Linked DNA regions of Homo sapiens: regions 1, 2, 4, 5, 6 and 7 are each linked to region 3. The links are contacts of gene promoters, found by promoter capture Hi-C in blood cells and fetal thymus (Javierre and others, 2016). All regions are on one chromosome and are shown on one strand. The core of a region is centred on a gene start or on the middle of the fragment in contact, and the rest is flanking DNA. Distances in the headings are between cores, read along the strand shown.

Region 1 (2,700 bases), core at 137-2,636, 610 kb before region 3:
TTTACTGCAGGCTGTTTTATTAGCAAGGTCTTTGTGACCTGTATCTTGTGCTGACCTCCTATCTCATCGTGTGACTTAGAATGCCTAACCTTCTGGGAATGCAGTGCAGTAGGTTTCAGTCTCATTTTACCCAGCTCCTATTCAAGGTGAAGTTGCTCTGGTTCACATGCCTCCGGCAGACTGGAGGTACAGATAGATTTCACAGAGCAGCCAGTATAGTCTGGATGAAGGAACAAAGGAAACGACACAGTTCCCTTGTACCGTTCATGCGGAAAAGGTCTTATAGAATTAAGCCTCCAGAAAGAGGGGGCCCACAAAGACCCTCCTTTTCTCTCCATTTCTCCATCTGCGCTCAATACCCCCCTTCCTGCCAACCCCTCTTTCACGCACCCAGACCTGATACCTTTCTCTTTTCCTCCAGATACTTCTCTCCGTAGTTTACCCTGTTACCCTAACCTTGTTGATTTTTTTTTTCTGCTTAGTCCATCATTTTCTCAGAAATGTGTCTTAACATCTCCCACTATGATTGTGGATTTGTCTATTTCTCTTTTTAGTTCTGTCAACTTTGTTATGTATTTTAAAGCTTTGTTCTTTATTAAGTGCTGCATATCATGTATGAAAAATTACAGATATAATTTGAGGCCCTAGATGATAGTAAGATTTATTTTTGCTTCTGGAAGGCAGTTGGGGTCTGGGCAGGCACCCTTAATCCAGTGGTTTTCAACCACAGGTGATTTTCCCCACCAGGGGACATTTGGCAATGTCTGGAGAAAGTTTGGTTGTCAGAATTTGGGGAAGGAGAGGTGCTACTGGCATCCAGTGGTTAAAAGCCAGGAATACTAAACATTGCATAGGATGGTCCACTGATAATGTCAATTTATCAGTGTCAATAGCACTGAGGTTGCGAAAGCTTGCCCTAATCCAATTATCAGAGGCGTTTGAACCAAAGTAACTCCATCTTGAGTAGGGGCTGCGTAAAATAAGGCTGAGACCTGCTGGGCTGCATTCCTAGAAGGTTAGGCAATCTAAGTCATGGGATGAGATAGGAGGTCAGCAGAAGATACAGGTCATAAAGACCTTGCTAATAAACCAGGTTGCAGTAAAGAAGCCGGCTAAAACCCACCAAAGCCAAGATAGTGACAACAGTGACCTCTGGTTGTCATCACTGCCACACTCCACTTGCACCATGACAGTTTACAAATGCCATAACAACATCAGGAAGTTACCCTATATGGTCTCAAAAGGGGAGGCATGAATAATCCACCCTTTGTTTAGCATATCATCAAGAGATAACCATAAAAATGGGCAACCGGCAGCCCTCGGGGCTGCTGTGCCTATGGGGTAGCCATTCTTTTATTCCTTTACTTTCCTGATAAACTTGCTTTCACTTTACTCTATGGACTCACCCTGAATTCCTTCTTGCTCCAGATCCAAGAACCTTCTCTTGTGGTCTGGATCAAGACCCCTTTCCTGTAACACAGTCAAACGGTAAGCCAATGGGAAGCTGGGTTTCAGTCTTTGTGAGAGTTTCTCTATTTTCATTCCTGTTCCTTCCAAAGGGTGAGGCCCTTTGGAAGTTGAAAGCTGGCGGCGACTACTTGAGCTCTTCCTTCCTTAGCATGAGACTGCTGGGAGCTTCTCTGCCTCATGAAATAGGCAAATGCCTCAAAATTCAAAGCTCTGCTAACCCTTCTCTCCAGGACCTTGACCCTCAAATCCTCACCCCCTTGGCGGCTCACCTTCAGATAGGTCTTGTTTGTTTTGCCAGCTTTTCTAGCTGCTCCGGATAGGAGGACTGATCTGCCAATCTGCCTTTAGGGGAAACAGCAAGAGATTGCCTCTCAGTCTTTTCTTGAAGCTTTCAAATGCAGGCTTTAGGCCTATTGTGATGCTAATGGATCTCCTCTGCCCTTACTTTGCCCATTCTGCATGGAGGGGGCAGCTCTAGTCCCCCAAGCATGAAAGAAGTTGGGTACTCCCGGTTCTGATCATTACTGCCACCAGGAAGAGCTACGGGGTGAGAGGGGGGATGGATTTCTCCCTAGTTATGTAAGAAACAAGCAGGTCTCACCCTTCATTTTTCCTTTCTCATACAAGGTGAAATACTGCAGTCTCATACGAGGAAGCATGTTTTTCCTGTTAACATTATTTCGATCCTGGTCCTTAGGGAAAAATAAGCCCGGCATTAAAGTGCGGGGAGCACTCACCTTCCCCCACCCCACAGTCTGGCTTATAGTGCTAGAACACCAACCAAGTGGTGACTGGGCCGGACCACAAATGGATGCGGATGCGGTCAGCTCCCGTTATGAGGATAGAATTCTAATCAGATTGTGGATCCGATTACTTCTGACTCATAAATCTCCCTGACTTTAGAAAACAGGGATATCTTATTTATTGGAGGAATGACAGTGTGAACAGAGGCGTGGCTGCGTTCTCACCAGCTGAGATAAACGCCGACCAGACCAGCACAGACATCCTGTGCTCGTTTCCTTTACTTGGTTTTTCAAATAAAGCCTTTGTGTGTCACTGGTATTGTGAGGAATACGAAATAATGAAAGAAGTGATTCTTCAGGTGAGTCATTCTATTATAAAATGGAGCCCACCGTCAGGAACTGCTCCCTGAGAGAGCAGGACAGGATTTCCCTGCGCGGGGAGTGAAAGCAGAAGGCGCAGTCACGACGCGCCCCCTACTGGTCAGCG
Region 2 (2,700 bases), core at 50-2,549, 840 kb before region 3:
GACAAAGCAAGACTCCCTTTCAAAAAAAAAAAAACGGAACCAACATATACATACTTGACTATCAATATCCCCAACACTAGAAACAATTCCTTTTCAAATGAAAATTACTAAGATGCTTTAAAAAGAAAAAAAAAGCACACAGTCACAAATATCACAAATATTTGATCTCCTTGTTATAAAATAATCGCTAATTTTGGTCCCATTATTTCAGTTACAGTAAATCAACAGGACACACCATATTACTTTTGTATTGATCTAGTAGCACCTTGTTATCTGTAAGAAGTGTAAAGCAATCAATGGCAACTCAGCTGAGAAAGTTTCATGGTTCATCCAAAGGCAATTACCTTTTAATTTAAAAAATAAGATCACTCTATAGATTTTTGCTCATTTCAAAACATTCTTATAATGCCATAATTTATATATCTAAGCAACTGCAGTCCATAAACCAGTCTCCTTCTAGAAATTCTTCAAGAACTATAGAATCCTTTTCTACTTTTTTCCCTTTCATTACAGAATAAATTAAGAACATGGTGTAGGGCCTGAACACAAAGCTTCTCATTTCTTGTTTTTTTTGTTTTTTTTTTTATAGGCTTTTGCTTCACTGATGTATACACGGAGACAAGCATTTTTCTGTATGGAGCACGCAGCCTGTATACAGAAACAACACTGACATGCTTGTGTCCTAGTCTCAGTTTGACTATTGTGCTCATCAGAGACAAAAGCCTGGGGATCTACTCACAGGGTTGTTGTGAGGCTCAGGTGAGATGAAAAGCTCTTTGTAAATTGGAATTACAGAACGATTCAACACACAAGAAAAATGACATGAAAGATACCTCTTAACTGCCAAAACTAATAACCTTTCTCAGCACTTAATCAAATACTGCTTGTCTATGTCTAAAATGTCTTTTGAGTTGCTCCCTTCCTCTCCACCTCCTACCTTATACCCCTATCATCTCTCTTTCAGTCACTGTACAATTACAATTACTACTATGTAAGATTGCAGCCGCCTCCACTTCACGCCTTTCCAACTTCATCTGTGCACTGTGACCAAGCAAACTCTCCACAGTCCAAAAGTTAAAATTAAAATTTAGACTACACAGATGATTTGGTGCTAAATCATAACTTGTGATAGAATAAGCAGGTCAGCATTTTGTAATGTTTAAAAACACCATGACTTTCATGGCCATAAGAACATGTTTGAAAACCACTCCCTTACAAGAGAAAATCCAAGCCTCCACACCTGCCACCTGGGCCTTTGGAACCCTCTGCCCTTCCCAGTTTCCAGCTTCCCTGATGCTACAGGAAAACACATGCCAGATTCCAGAAGGCCATCTCCCCTGACCTTACCCCTCCTTCAAGCTCAAGCACCATCACCTTGGAGAAGTCTTCTCTCACCAACCCCATGCTTGTCTCAACAAGCCAGAACTGCCACCTCTCATCTGCCTCAGGACAGCACACACAGCACGCTATTATGGGGCTGGTATGTTGTCATTTGAGCTCAACGTGCTCCCCGCAACTAGACAGCACACTCTTGGTTAATCTCCGGCTCCCAAGAATTGAACACAGTGCCTGACTCAAAAGAGGTAGCTGCTATTCAATAAAATGCTGAGAAGACTCAATTCCTTAAGCTAACCATTAAAAAAAAAATCAGTCCTATGACTTTATAGTCATTTCCCATATAAAGAAATGATGTAGGTTAAGTTCCAAACAGGTAGTAAAATAATAGAACCATAGAAATTCAAAAGATGGAAGGATCATCAAAGAGCATGTTAATAACAATACAAATAAGACGGCCACCCTAAGAGTCATCTAATTTTTCTAATTAGAAAACCTCTGTAAAATTAATTTGATCAATAAATTAAAATTAATAAAACAAGTATATTTTCCAGTTGTTCTAGTTTTAAATGCTTTTTAGCTGTTGCCTTGTTTTGTATTGTTAACAATTTTTGCTGTTTAGTGTTTAAGACTTCAGTGTGTATGTTTTTCCTCATCTCTTTAGATGGTAAGGACTGGGAAGAAAGTGAGCTATTACTTGGTGCTAAGCTTTGCATGCATTATTTCATGCTTACTCCAATCCTGTAAGGAAGGTATTATTCCATTTTAGAAATGAAGAAAACAAAGGATCAGAAAAATTAAGAAAATCACTCATGATCAGAAGGCTGAGGCGGGAGGATAGCTTGAGCCCAGGAGTTTGAGACCAGCAGTGGGAAACACAGCAAGATCCCATCTCAAAATAAACAAATGAATAAAACCAAATACAAATTGCTCATTAATACGCAGTTAATGAGCAGTTGAGCTGAGAATTTATTTGTCAGAACTTAACCACTGTTTGCACCAGGAAAACCTTAAATATCCATTTTAAAACTGAAAGCCCTTCATCCTAGGAACTTAGTCCCAGGAAAACCAGGATGGTCACTTAGCCTAATGTGGACTTAAGCCCAACTCTGACTCCTAAGTCTGGGTTTCCATCAGCTCCATTACTGTGCCCTAGGTAGGGAGCAAACTAGCTTACCTAACCATAGTAGTATTAAAATTTTCTATAATATAAACGAGCTGGTCACACCATGAGTTTTAGTTTTTCTTGAGTCAGAGGTGAACTTTACCAGTTTGGCTGCTTTATGTTCTACAAAGTTAGCTATCTTCTTTCTGGGTCCAAGGGGTATCCCCATTTCCTTCAGGTCATCAACTGTACACATAAGC
Region 3 (2,700 bases), core at 147-2,646:
TGGATTACAGGCGTGAGCCACCACGCCAGGCCTAAGTTTTGTATTTTTAGTAGAGACGGGGTTTCGCCATGTTGGCCAAGCTGGTCTCGAACTCCTGACCTCAGGTGATCCACCCGCCCCAGCCACCCAAAGTGCTGGGATTACAGGCGCGACCCACCATGCCCGGCCGATTTCCTCATTCATTAATTCACATATCTCGTCTATTAAATGTGTAATACATTGACAATAATCTATTTCACTGCTGCCTTCTAAATTTTCCTTCTGGGCTGGGCGCGGTGGCTCACGCCTGTAATCCCAGCACTTTGGGAGGCCGAGGAGGGCGGATCACGAGGTCAGGAGATCGAGACCACGGCGAAACCCCGTCTCTACTAAAAATACAAAACATTAGCTGGGCGCAGTGGCGGGCGCCTGTAGTCCCAGCTACTCGGGAGGCTGAGGCAGGAGAATGGCGTGAATCCAGAAGGCGGAGCTTGCAGTGAGCCGAGATCGTGCCACTGCACTCCAGCCTGGGCGACAAAGCGAGACTCCGTTTCAAAAAAAAAAAAAATTTTTTTCCTTCTGAGCTCACCTTTATTTCGTACCAAGGGCTTGAGAATTAGATTCGGTTCAAATGGTTTTCAAATTCTAGGTAAAGTACTTCGTCTGCGAACATTAAAATTGTTAAGCAACAATAAAAGGGCCTCTCAGATTGATTTTTTTCACTAACACTAATTTTTCTTAATTTGTTTGTGACGTGCGCTGTATGTAAAAAGTGACGACACTCCTTTCCGTGTGTTTTCAAACACCAAGCAAGTCTGCTGTGCTCCAGGGCGTTTCGCCCTTTGCCAGGTCGCTGTCCCCATTCGCCCCCTCTGAGAGCCTCCATTTCTCAAGGCAATCCCTGTGACACAAACTTTTTACTTTACCAAGATATAAAAGAACCTTGCTTGTTTATTTTAGGCGTCACTCTTCCCCATGATTGTCTCTCACGGTTGAGCGGCGCTGACCTGATGACACCTGCTCACTGCGTTTTCGTTAAACTCAGCATTTTCACGTAGCCAAGACAGGCGATTCCCAGGCTGGATGGGACCTTACTGTAACTGCACGACTCCGCACAAGTCGCTTTGAAAACCAATCTGCAGACGTTTGCTTGTTCTCCAGACAGAAACTCTGACCCCACACTCACCCTTCCCACCCTAATTCTCGCTCGAAGATTGAAGAGCCTGTGAACTGTCTCCCTAACGCTATCCAGGACAGGCCCAAGACGGGAACTGGACCTTGCGCGCCTAGGACTCCGGCGCCGCCACGTCTGTCGGCGTGCGTGACGCCAGCGCGCTTGCGCGCACGGAGACCCGCCCCCTACATCCGGGGCCTGGGCGGCAGCAGGGCCGCCGCGGGGAGGTCACGTGGCTCCTTCCTTTCCGTCTCTGGCCGGCTGGGCGCGGGCGACTGCTGGCGAGGCGCGTGGGACCTTACGCTGGTTCCCCTTCGTCTCCTCTCCCGGCCCGGGCCACTAGAGAGTTCGCTGACGCCGGGTGAGCTGAGCCTGCCGCCAAGATGCCGGCCTATTTTCAGAGGCCGGAAAATGCCCTCAAACGCGCCAACGGTGAGTAGCTGATCGGGGCGCGCCGGGCTGGGGCGGCCCGAGGCCTCCGAGGTCGAGAGCGCGGGCCTGCTTCCCACTGCTCCGCCGCCCGGCCCGCGCGGGGAGAGGAGACCGATGCGGCCTGCCCGCCGCTGTCCCAGCCGGTGGTTGGGCATGGGTTTCCTTCTCACTCTATCGACTGGGGTCTGGGAGGCGCGTAGCCCGGAACCGTCGCCCCAGGGGCCTTTCCTTCCCCCTGCCGCCTCCGGGTGCGTCGCGGGGACCGCAGCCCGGGAGACAGCCCCTACCCGGACTGGAGCTCCCTCCTTGCTGCCTGCGTCCTCTGGCTCTCCAGGTCCCTGGGGCTTTGGTCTGCTTAGGGCCCGCGTCCCCGGCCGCCATCTGGGAGTGCCGGGGAGTAAGAAACATGGCTCCCTCCCGGGGACAATGCACGCGAGAGCCTCGGCTCCACCTCCTGCCCGGGCCGGGAGCCCTACGGACCCACCCCCGGCCTTCCCGCAGCCACCCCCGCTCTCCAAGCCGCGCTCAGTGCTTTGCTGGGTCGGCGTCCACTTACCCTTTACCCAGCTGCTTTATATCCACTTAGGGGCCTCTGACCCATTTAACCTGATTCCTGTTGTTTTGTTTTGTTTTTGTTTTTTCATTTTTCCTGGCATTGATTAGAAGCAGTCCTAAAGCCTGTTTCGAATCACTGGAAGTTGGAATAGAGTTAATGTAAAGGGACTTCAGGTCGCCTCTTAAAGATAACGAAACAGGCCTAGAGAGAGGTTTCCCCAAGGTCACTCCGGGAGTTGTTGAGCCAAGAGACTTAAAACCAACGTCTCTTGACATCCAGATCAGTCCTTTTTTCTCTTTTTTTCTGCCACAGTGCTGCTGTCTGCGATTTCTATTTCTATATGTGTACTTCAGCCATTGGCGCTTGAGGGAAAAACTTGTGTGCCCCGATCTCTCCAAGGCATTTATTACATTGGCGTTCTGGGGATGCACATGTTCTTGGCTAGGCTCTGGGCTTAAGAAACTTTGTGTAGGGTTTTTTTTTTCCCCTCTAACCGGACAATTTTTCTAATCGTTAGGGCATGGATAGCTCTTATTTTCATCCTTCCTTCACCGAAATA
Region 4 (2,700 bases), core at 152-2,651, 650 kb before region 3:
CGGGAGGTAGGGGCTACAGCAAGCCATGATCACGCCACTGCACTCCAGCCTGGGTGACAGAGCAAGACCCTGTCTCAGAAAAAAAAAAAAAAGATAATGAGATAATGCTACATCAGATAGAAATATAACACAAGTGCAGGTGTACCTTTCCTCATATTTCCTCATCCAAATGGACAGAGATTTTCCACTCCAATTAAAATATATTCAAAACAGCCCTAAAAAGAGGCCAGGCGCAGTGGGTCAAGCCTATAATCCCAGTACTTTGGGGGGCCGAGGTGGGCAGATCACCTGAGGTCAGGGGTTTGAGACCAGCCTGGCCGACATGGCGAAACCCTATCTCTAACAAAAAATACAAAAATTAGCTGGGTGAGGTGGCACACACCTGTAGTCCCAGCTACTCAGAAGTCTGAAACAGGAGAATCGCTTGAACCTAGGAGGCAGAGGTTGCAGTGAGCCGAGAACACGCCACCGCACTCCAGCCTGGGCAACAGAGCAAGACTCTGTCCACTGCCCGCCCCGCCCTTTCCCCCTCCCCCAAAAAAACAGGCCTAAAAAGAGCAACAAACATAATACAACATCTTATTTTTAAGGCAATGATATTACTGAGAGAGAACTTAGACTTAACTTTAATTCAGCTCAACTCAAACAAAAACGCCTTCTCTGTCCTAAGTACTCTAAAGCCTAGAGACACCAAGATGAGGAGTAAATACAGCCCTTGCCTTGGGGAACACACTGGGACTTCCCACCGGGGAAGAAGTAGGCAAACTTTTATTATGATGATGCATAAGGGTTAGAATTGAAGTGTCCACTAAGTGTAGAAAATGCCTGGAAACACAATAAAGGTGGCCAATAATTCTGCCCCAAGGATGAGGGGTAGCATCTGAGCTGGGTCTTATGGAATGGACTAGGTAGGAAAAGGGGTTGACAGTAACAAACATTCCAGGCTAAATAAATGAGTATTTTAATCTTAAATATCATCATTACTTATCCTTCTGATGTCTCTAGAAAAAGGAAAACTCTTGTTTCAGGTTGTTCAATAGTCACGAATGTAAAAACCACGATGCCCACAAGCTTTTTTGAGCTTATAATACTGCCCTTTCAAAAAAGAAAAGGACTTAGTAATCTATTCAGCTAAATAACCAGTAGGAAACAATGAAAGATTTTAAATGCTGTCACTACAAACAGCAGCAAAACTTGCCATAAAAGCACAGGGGAAAAGTCCAATAAAATAAAGAGAATTTTAAATGATTCCATATACAGAAAAAGATCTGAAAAGCACTTATTCAATTAAAATGCCATTCTTAAATAGCCATTAGTTAGAAAGGATCTTCAGTCCTGGACAGGATAAACTATAGGAAAATCAAGTGCATGGGATTCTTTATTCCCTGGCTATCCTGAACACCTTAAGATCAAAACTGGCTGTTACTTCTGAAACATGGCCTCTTCCTTCCTCCAGACATTTGGTCTACTTGGTCTGTGGCCCGCTATATTCTAAAAAGTATGCCAATCTCAAGTGCAAAGGCTATAGCTACTTTCCTCCCCCAAAAAAGTTTTAAATTTGCCTTCTGACATGGACTTTGAACAAACAGTAATCCAAACTGCATGGCTTCATCCAAGAATCTAGGCGCAGGTTAGCCTTTATAGTTCAAGAAACTGGGGTGTAGAAAAGTTTGTTGTCAGATGAGTTGGAGACGATCTTAAGTCCCATCCAGTTCTAATAGTCTAAGCTTTTAGAATCCAAGGAGTTGACTCTTTTGACAACCTAGGAATTTTGAAATCTGCTTTACTTCAAGCTGTACTGAAGCCTTACCCAAATTTGGGGGAGTGAAAGGAGGGAAGGGGAGAAAGCCAGACAAATGGTCAAATCAGAGAAGAGAATGACAGAAGACTGGCCAAAATTAGCCTATCCATAATAACTCTATCCCGAGATCATCAAGAACTTTATCTGGGCCAAGGAGTTTATCCTCCATTCTGAAAAGAGGAAATACAACGTAATAGCAAGAAAATATAGACAGAGCCTGAGGAAAAAAATAAGTTATCCTTCACTGCTCTGGCAAAGCAACTAGTAGGCCTTCCTAAGAAAGCAGTGGGGCCTGCCCAAAAGTGTTCTGGAGGTCACAGAACTGCCCTGTGTCAGTGTCTCAACTCTAGGCTGTGACCCCGAACGAGTTACTAATAACCTCTCACTCCTTTCTCCTCACCTGAAAAAGAGGATCCCACACGTGTCCTGTAAGGTTGCTGTGGGGATTGGAAATAATATGTTAAAGGGCCTGTCCTTAAAAACCATCCTATAAGTGATACCACGCTGTGATCTGAAAAGCTCATCTGAACCTTTTATCCTTTTCAATTCATATCATGTAATCCTTCTGTCTAGACTGCACATAAGAATTACAAGTAAGTCTGAAAAGCTCTGGCTCCTTCCTTAAAGAACTCTATCCTCTCGCTTTCCCTAAAGTGGAAGAATCTCTGAGTGATATGAGGAAAGGATTAGCAAGCCAAAAGGGGCAGGTGCCACCCAGCCCCATCTTACAAGAAACTGGACTGTCAGCGCTCTGAGGGCAGGGACTGCTCTGTTTAAACCACGACTGCACACACATTTTCCTAAAGCAAGCTAATTGCAGACTTAAGCCTCTCCGAACAGCTTACATGACACCCAAACATGGACCCACAATACATTTTGTGTCGCACAACATCAAGTCA
Region 5 (2,700 bases), core at 52-2,551, 780 kb before region 3:
ACGGGGGTTTGCCATGTTGGCCAGGCTGGTCTTGAACTCCTGACAGGTGATCCGCCCGCCTCGGCCTCCCAAAGTGCTGGGATTACAGGCGTGAGCCACCCCGCCTGGCCCTCGCTGCATTTTAATAAAGATACAAAAGCTAATTCAAATGGAAAAAGGATATTCTTTTCATCAAAGACATGAACAATTTAACATTTACATGGAAAAATAAAATCCTCAACCTTTACCTCATATTTTATATAAAATTAACTCAAAATGGATCATACATCTGAGTATAAAACCTGAAACTATAAAACTTTTAGAAGAAAACAGATCTTTGTGACCTGGGGTTTGGCAATGAGTTCTTAAGACATGACACCGAAGGCACAGTGCGTAAAACAAAAATTTGATAAATTGGGCTTCATCAAAATTAAAAACCTTTGTTCTGTAAAAAAAAATTCTATTAGGAGCATGAAAAGACAAGCTATACACTGGGAGAATATATTTGAAAATCCGGTATCAGAAAAAGAACTTGAATCCAGAATATATAAGAAAACACAGCAGTAATTTAAAAACTCAATTTTAAAAGGGGCAAAAGATTTAAGTAGGCTTAAATAGACATTTCACCAGATAGGATACAAGGATGGCAAATATCCCCCTGAGAAGAGTTCAGCATTGTTAGCCATTAGGGAAATGCAAATTTAAGCCATGATATTGCATATTAGAACAGCTAAAATTTAAAAATACATAGTGATAGTACTAAGTACTGGCAAGGATGGGAACAGCTGGATCTCTTAGCAAAATGGTGCAGCCACTCTGGAAGACAGGTAGAATCTTAATCATACATTTACCATGTACTCAACTGTGTCATATCTAGATACTCATTCTAGAGAAATGAAAGCTCATGTTCACATGAAAACCTGCAGACACGTGTTTTATAGTTTTGTTTATAGTTGTCAAACCTGAAGACAATCTAAATGTCCTTCAGCAAGCAAATACATAAACAAATTGGTTGTTATTCAGAGGAATAATAGGAATAAAAAGAAATGAAGTATTGATATACAAATGTGTTGGGGAGTCCTATAACCACCCATATGCTTGAAGATTTACTAGGACTTATATGATTCACTGTATAGTTGTACTCCTCCTAAGATTTATTGCAGCAATATGGTAAGGATACATAGTTGGATCCTAAGGACACACATGGAGTCTGGAGGAATCCAGTGTCTTGATAATTTTTTCTTTTTGCGTGGTGGAGGAGGTGGTGTGGGGGGGGACGAAGATTCACTCTAGTCGCCCAGGCTGGAGTGCAATGGGGCAATCTTGGCCCACTGCAACCTCCACCTCCCAGGTTCAAGCGATTCTCCTGCCTCAGCCTCCCAAGTAGCTGGGATTACAGGCGCACACCATCACGCCTAGCTAATTTTTGTATTTTTAGTAGAAAAGGGGTTTCATCATATTGACCAGACTTGTCTCGAACTCCTGACCTCAGGTGATCCGCCTGCCTTGGCCTCCCAAAGTGCTGGAATTACAGGTGTGAGCCACCGCACCCAGCCAAGAGGATTTTTTCATTTTAAGTGCAGAGGCAGGAGGATCGATCACTTGAGCCCAGGAGTTCCAGACCAACCTGGACAACATAGGGAGACCTCCATCTCTACAAAAAGATTTAAAAATTAGCCAGGCGTGGTGGCCCGTGCCTGTGGTCCCAGCTACGCAGGAGACTGAGGCCAGAGGATCACTTGAGCCCAGGAAATTAAGGTTGCAGTGAGCCAGGATCACACCACTGTACTCCATCCTGGGTGACAAAGCAACACAACACCCTGCCTGAAAAAAGAAAATTGCATTTATATACATTCAAGTAACTTAGAAATAACTTGCTGCTCCCCAGTCACTGCTTGATGTAGCTTTACTATTTGTTATGTGGTATTCTCACGTCTTTTACACAATTGCAGGCAGAATAGTTGGTGTGGCAGTCGTGGCTGTGTAATAGTCTTTTCTTTAAACATCCATTTTGAATACAAGCGAAAATACCCACTTATCTTTTACCCAATTCACTGTATCTAGTAGAGCAGCGATTCTTAAACTTCAATGTGCATTATAGTCAGTCACATAGAGGGCTTTTTAAAATATGAATTGCTAGGCCCCACCCCTAAGAGTTTCTGATTCTGTGGTTCGGGGTTGGGCTGAATAATTTGCATTTCTAACAAGTACTCAGATGATGCTAATGATGCTGGTCAGGGAACCAACTTTGAGGACTAGTTTGTTAGTGGATTTAACGCCTACACATTAGTATCACCTGAGGAGTCCCCCATCCCTACTTCTTTTTCACAACTGGCCCTTGTCCAGTTAAGTAAACGTGTTTGGAAGTCCTGCTCAAACATGGTGTTAGGATTTTATGGTCCTTTTCAACAGATGCAGCTCCATAACAAGTGTAGACTTTTTATTTTTTACTCCAAATCTTCATAACACTTGTGTGATGAATATAAACAGCAGGATTGGCCAGCTGTGTGGTTTGGTGGTTTTAGTTCACATAAATCTGTATTCCGTCAATAGCTCACTTTTTGGTCTTGGCCAGTTCCCATAAGTGCCTGCTGTAGATGGCTTGTTAATTGTAAGGAGTAAATAGTAACTACACAGTAGAGTAATTGGCTGTCACTTTGGGTGATCAAAATTAACATCACCAATGAAGGGAAGATGGACATCATGTCTTTTCAGACATCT
Region 6 (2,700 bases), core at 41-2,540, 810 kb before region 3:
TGGCAGGGCAAGGACTGGAATACAGACAGTCTGTGCTCTTAAACACTATGCTCTGGGCAATGCTACATAATCATCAAAAAGCAATCTCCCTGGACAATAATACAAATATGAAAAAAGAGCTAGGAGTGCACATAGGAGTGGGGGCCTAAGAGAACAAGAAACAGCTTCTTGGAAGAAGTGATGTATTGTCTTGAAAGATGAGGAATGGGTGGGGGGTTAAACCTGTAATCCCAGCACTTTGGGAGGCCAGGGCAGGCGGATCACTTGAGGTCAGGAGATTGAGACCATCCTGGCCAACATGGTGGAACCCTGTCTCTACTACAAATACAAAAATTAGCCAGGCATGGTGGCAGACGCCTGTAGTCCCAGCTACTCGGGAGGCTGAGGCAGGAGAATCACTTGAACCTGGAAGGTGGAGGCTGCAGTGAGCCGAGATCGCGCCACTGCATTCCAGCCTGGGCGACAGAGCAAGACTCCGTCTCAAAAAAAAAAAAAAAAAAAAAAAGATAAGGAATGCATTGTATATGTCTACTTCACAAATATTACAGGCTTCTAGAAGAGGGGCACAGTCCATCTTATAAGATATCTTACTGTAACCTAGAAGATATTGTACTGTATCACAACAATCTCCTAGTAGGAGACAGTGTACCGTATCCTAGGAGAGGGGCACAGTCCATCCTAGGAGGTATCTTACCGTATCCTAGGAGTCTCCTAGTGGGAGACAGACTACTGTACCCTAGGAGAGGGCCACTGTTTAATTTATTTGCATTTCCTGCCAGCACCTGGCGTACCAACAACGGGTATTCAGCAAAGATTTGCGGAATGCCAGGGTACGAATGAATGTCCAGCACTCTGGACAACTCGGAACAGGGGGTTTCCGTGAAGAGCAAGTCTCATCACCTGCCACCTCCAAGATCCCAAAGCCCCCGACCCACTCAAACCTGGCCAGTAATGATCCTGGCAAGCTATCCAGAGGGTAGCTCGAGGCAGAAGGAAAAACTCCCGTCTGACCTTTGTCATTGCACGTCCCCCGCCCGCCTCCCACCACACACGGGGCCGCCCTCCCCTTATTACCTCCCGGTAAGAGCAGGGAGGCCGGAGAAGCGGAGGCCTGGGTGACTGGGATGAAGGGCACATTGAAGCTGAACTCCGTGGCCGAGGAGGAGAAAAGTAAGTTAGTGCCCGATGAGGAAGTGGAGGCGCCGCCGCTGCCACCGTTAGGTTTTCTCTCGGCCATGGCTGCGGCCCACCGTCCGATACACGTCTCCGGGTACCCGGTACCACACCACTGACCGGAAACCGATCACGCTCCTGGCCAGCGCACTTCCGCACTTGCGCACAGGAGCCGAAATTACGGGTAGCTAGTCAGCCGCCCTCTCCCTTCCCCTACACGGCGACGCCAGATATCAACATGGCGACACTGTCTTCACGCCCGCGTCTAGCACGTGACACCCTCGGAGGCGGAGGCCGGGCGGGAGGATGGGGACGTGGTCCCCGCAGGTTCTGGATAGACGTGCGAATTGAGACGCAATTGACCCTGAAAGTCACAGGTTGTGGCGGGTATCTATGGGCTTCCTAAAGGTACCGTCAGGATGGCTCTCCTGACAAAGATTTTGGAGGAACAGCGGAATCCTGCTGGACGCTACCGGAAGGAGGAAGGGAGGAAGAGCGTTGTGCGGGAATGGGAATTCGCATGCTAGGCGGAACCAAACACCCTCTCCAAAACCCACTTGTCTTTCTGGATGGAACCGAACATTGTGGTTGACCCAGAAATAGAAGTGGTAAAACATTTTTTAAGTGTTTAATCCATAGGGAGAAAAAAATATTTCGTTTTATTTTTGTTGTTTTTTGTTTTGCATTTGTTTTTTGTTTTTTTGGTTGGTTTTGTTTTTTGTTTTGAGACAAGTCTGCTGTGTCGCCCAGGCTGGAGTGCAGCGGTGCAGTCTGGGCTCATTGCAATCTCCGCCTCCCGGGTTCAAGCGATTCTCCTGCCTCAGCCTCCGAGTAGCTGGGACTACAGGCGTCCGCCACCACGCCTGGCTAATTTTTTGTATTTTTAGTAAAGACGAGGTTTCACCGGGTTGGCCAGGATGGTCTCAATCTCCTGACCTCGTGATCTGCCCGCCTTGGCCTCCCAAACTGCTGGGATTATAGGCATGAACCACCACGCCTGGCCAAAAAAAATATTTAAAAGAGAAATCAAACCAGACGCCATGGCGCAGGCCTGCAATCCCAGCACTTTGTGAGGCAGAGCGGGAGGATAGCTTGAGCCCAGAAGGTTGAGACCAACCTGGCCAACATGGTGAAACCCCGTCTCTACTAAAAATACAAAAATTAGCCGGGCTTGGTGGCATAGCACCTATATTGCCAGCTACTCAGGAGGCTGAGGCGGGAATATTGCTTGAGGCCAAATTAACCCTGATCTTGCCACTCACTGTGCAGCGAGACCCTGTCTCCTTAAAAAAAAAAAAAAGAAAAAAAAAGAAACCAGGGCATTGAAATTAGAGATCTGACATTTTAGATAGCTTTCTATATCCACAGTAAGCTGACTTACTTCAATCCAGGAGGTACTGTGGATAACTTGGACATAATTGTCATCTTTCATAGTTAGAGATTTTGAAGGAAAATATAACTTAAGCCATATTTCAGCTTCTTGGAGGTTGGGAGAGGAGATACCAAAAGAACGCTCAAAATAATGAA
Region 7 (2,700 bases), core at 65-2,564, 760 kb before region 3:
CCATTTCATGGAAGACCATTTTTCCATGGACCGGAGTGGGGATGGTTTCAGTATGAAACCGTTCCACCTCAGAACATCAGGCATTAGTTAGATTCTCATAGGGAACACACAGATGTGCAGTTCACAATAGGGTTCGCGCTCCTGTGAGAGTCTGATGCCACTGCTGATCTGACAGGAGGCGGAACTCAGGCGGTAATGCCCACTCATCCACCCCTCACCTCCTATGTTGTGGCCCGGTTCCTAACAGGCCATGAACCAGTACTGGTCCACGGCCTGGGCGTTGGGGACCCCTGAGATAAAGGACCTGGCTGATGAGTAAAATGAGCTGTTTTATCCCTTTTGCATTCTGAACGCTCTGTTTATACATCCCAAGGCGCCCACGTCATGTGCACGTTTAACGTGGACATTGACACTAGCACCGCATCCCTTGACTCCACTGTATTTCTTTGTTTCTCATTTTAAAACTAGTGTGGGCCTTTGACAAGTTCCAAGAACATAAGGAGGAAAATGCACATCATCTGTAATTTCACCACTTAGAACCTCCGTTAACCTTTAGGTACATGTTCATTGGTTTTTGTTTACATATGTATACATCCTTGCATAGGTCTTAGTTACACTCTAAGCACAGATGCGTGTCTTGTTTTCAGCAGTTGATATATATTAAACATTTTCCCATCATAATGCTTCATGAACTTTGTAGTGGCTGCAAAGTATTTCACTATGCAGTTGTACCATACTGTAACCATTTCCCTAAATGTTAGCTTTTCCTAGCTTTTCTCTATTATAAAGTTGCAGGAAACATCTTTGTGCTGTAAATCTTATCTTTTCTCAAATCAGTCTGTGACAGTAGTACATAATGGTTGAGAGCACAGGCTCTGGAACCAAACTACCCGGATTCATATCCCAGCTCTGTCAGCTTCCATTTAGATGAACATGTTGCTTATTATCATCTCTGTGCCTCGGATTTCTCATCTGTGAAGCAAAGACAACAGCACCTACCGCTGAATGGTTAGGGGTTAAATGAGGAAGCATTTACATACTCAGAACGGTCTTTGGCACGTGACCAGCAGCACTTACGTACAAATATTGGCTATTACTTTTATTGCTGTTATTCTGATAAAATAACTGGTCAGAATATTCTGGTTTATTTTTAATGACAATATTAAGCTAATTTTTCTATTCTTCGCTATTTGATAGAAATCAGGAAGTCACTTCAGCATCTTATTGATTGATTTCTTTCTTTTCTAGATATACAAGAAGAGATGTCCTTCCACTAGGAAAATTTACAGTTAACTTGAGTGGTTGCCCACGGAATAGTACCTTCACAGAACACTTGTATCGAATTATTCAACATCTTGTTCCAGCAGTAAGATGAATATAAATATGTATTATAAACCTAAGCACACTTAAAAAATCCATCTAACTGTCTTTCATTCACTTCAAATATTTAACTTAGAGATTTTAATAGATCTTATTTAAGGGGAAACAAAGCCTGCCAAATTACATAATTTAAAATGTACGTTCCCCTAAACATTTCACTTTTTTTTGTCTTTTTGCCTAAGCACAAATTTCTGTAAGTCTAACAAAACAATTGTAGTAACTCCCTTAAAATTACACTCTCTTGATACCAATTTGTCCAATTTGGTATCCTTTTTGTACACTAAAGTCTTAAATCTAAATAAACTCTAAATTGTAGGAGCATAATTCTTTTAGTTGAGGTAATAAAGTTCTTTATCTCCATTGCCTCAATTTTAATTCCTGTTTGGAAAGTTGAGCTCACTTTATTTGCCAGGGTATCTGGAATGCAGTATTTGCGTGGTGGTAGGATCTTGGGAACAGGGGAATTGCTTCTGATTAGTTGTGTGACTGAAAATACTGATCACTTCTTTGGAAATTGAAGAGGGTGCACTAGATCTTTATTGAACCGAATGTATTCAGTGTCTCAGTGCTAACACTCGTCCAGGCCCTCAAGAAGCAGAAGTGGACTGGAATATACCAGCAGTTCTCAGTCTCCTTAGACTCACTTTACACTCTGAAAAATGTGTTCATACTCAAAGAGCTGTTTTTCACGTTATGATTATATTTATCATTAATTTACCAAACTAGAAGATAAAGTAAATACACCTATTAAAAATAAAAAATTACATATAAATATTTTTATAAAAACAACTTTTCCCAAGCCAAAAATGATTAGTGATAAAGGTGACATTGTTTTACATTCTTGCAAATCTCTTCAATGTCTGGATTAATAGGAGACAATGGATGCTTGTATCTGCTTCTGCCTTCAGTCTATTGTAGTCTCAGGTTTTGGTTGAAGTATATGAAGGAAAGCTGGCCTCACACAGATGGAAAAGTAGATGGTAAAGGAAGGATGGTTTCGATAGCCTTTGCAGATAACTGGGTGGTGGTCTTTGATACTAGACCAAAACTGTCCACATGAGATTTTCTTAAAGATAGTTAAGTGTGGAATCTGAAATCCTATTCGTAAACTTTCCATAGTCTGCTATGGTAAAATTCATTAGTCTCGCACATTGAAAGGATCTTTTATCCATGCATGATTTTGACCTGATTGACCCTGTAAAAGGGTTTAAGCAATTCCCTGGGGGTTCTCGGGACCACATTTTGAGAATTATTGAAACAGATCCTTTGCCCTCACAGAGTTTAGGTAGAAGACCAACAAATAAATTAATACATGGTAGG

Evidence for each region. Contacts are between HindIII fragments. The CHiCAGO score rates a contact against its expected background, and 5 or more counts as called.
Region 1: a contact is called between a fragment that was not itself captured here and the fragment with the promoter of EIF3A in region 3, in 1 of 17 cell types (non-activated CD4 T cells). The highest score is 6.9, in non-activated CD4 T cells.
Region 2: a contact is called between a fragment that was not itself captured here and the fragment with the promoter of EIF3A in region 3, in 1 of 17 cell types (monocytes). The highest score is 5.8, in monocytes.
Region 4: a contact is called between a fragment that was not itself captured here and the fragment with the promoter of EIF3A in region 3, in 5 of 17 cell types (fetal thymus, neutrophils, non-activated CD4 T cells and 2 more). The highest score is 7.1, in fetal thymus.
Region 5: a fragment that was not itself captured here is called in contact with the fragment with the promoter of EIF3A in region 3 in 11 of 17 cell types (naive CD4 T cells, fetal thymus, non-activated CD4 T cells and 8 more); the score reaches 11.2 in naive CD4 T cells.
Region 6: the fragment with the promoter of SEC23IP here is called in contact with the fragment with the promoter of EIF3A in region 3 in 2 of 17 cell types (fetal thymus and naive B cells); the score reaches 9.0 in fetal thymus.
Region 7: a fragment that was not itself captured here is called in contact with the fragment with the promoter of EIF3A in region 3 in 2 of 17 cell types (naive CD8 T cells and non-activated CD4 T cells); the score reaches 7.0 in naive CD8 T cells.

What each region holds. Positions count from the first base shown.
Region 1 is chr10:119,686,643-119,689,342 of GRCh38, reverse strand. No RefSeq gene overlaps it. Among named protein-coding and RNA genes, the nearest start is that of BAG3, 37 kb to the right of the region's middle. RefSeq lists enhancers at 834-1,770, 1,771-2,700. The HindIII fragment of the contact is 948 bases long and covers 913-1,860 here.
Region 2 is chr10:119,920,888-119,923,587 of GRCh38, reverse strand. SEC23IP (SEC23 interacting protein) reads right to left here. Exons shown (of 19, transcript NM_007190.4): 12 at 2,604-2,699. Among named protein-coding and RNA genes, the nearest start is that of SEC23IP, 30 kb to the right of the region's middle. RefSeq lists an enhancer at 1,594-1,763. The HindIII fragment of the contact is 1,492 bases long and covers 554-2,045 here.
Region 3 is chr10:119,079,513-119,082,212 of GRCh38, reverse strand. It overlaps EIF3A (eukaryotic translation initiation factor 3 subunit A), which reads left to right and starts at 1,396. Exons shown (of 22, transcript NM_003750.4): 1 at 1,396-1,585. The coding sequence starts at 1,537. RefSeq lists enhancers at 1,182-1,476, 904-1,666 and a silencer at 1,672-1,931. The HindIII fragment of the contact is 5,277 bases long and covers 1-2,700 here.
Region 4 is chr10:119,726,971-119,729,670 of GRCh38, reverse strand. The region is part of intron 1 of INPP5F (inositol polyphosphate-5-phosphatase F); the gene reads right to left. Among named protein-coding and RNA genes, the nearest start is that of INPP5F, 2.3 kb to the right of the region's middle. The HindIII fragment of the contact is 656 bases long and covers 1,074-1,729 here.
Region 5 is chr10:119,860,860-119,863,559 of GRCh38, reverse strand. All of the region lies in intron 1 of MCMBP (minichromosome maintenance complex binding protein), which reads left to right. Among named protein-coding and RNA genes, the nearest start is that of MCMBP, 11 kb to the left of the region's middle. The HindIII fragment of the contact is 4,934 bases long and covers 1-2,700 here.
Region 6 is chr10:119,891,320-119,894,019 of GRCh38, reverse strand. It overlaps SEC23IP (SEC23 interacting protein), which reads right to left and starts at 1,290. Exons shown (of 19, transcript NM_007190.4): 1 at 1,075-1,290. The coding sequence starts at 1,237. RefSeq lists enhancers at 1,042-1,552, 1,553-2,063, 2,064-2,575. The HindIII fragment of the contact is 6,362 bases long and covers 1-2,700 here.
Region 7 is chr10:119,839,509-119,842,208 of GRCh38, reverse strand. MCMBP (minichromosome maintenance complex binding protein) reads left to right here. Exons shown (of 16, transcript NM_001256378.2): 11 at 1,249-1,366. Among named protein-coding and RNA genes, the nearest start is that of MCMBP, 32 kb to the left of the region's middle. The HindIII fragment of the contact is 3,624 bases long and covers 1-2,700 here.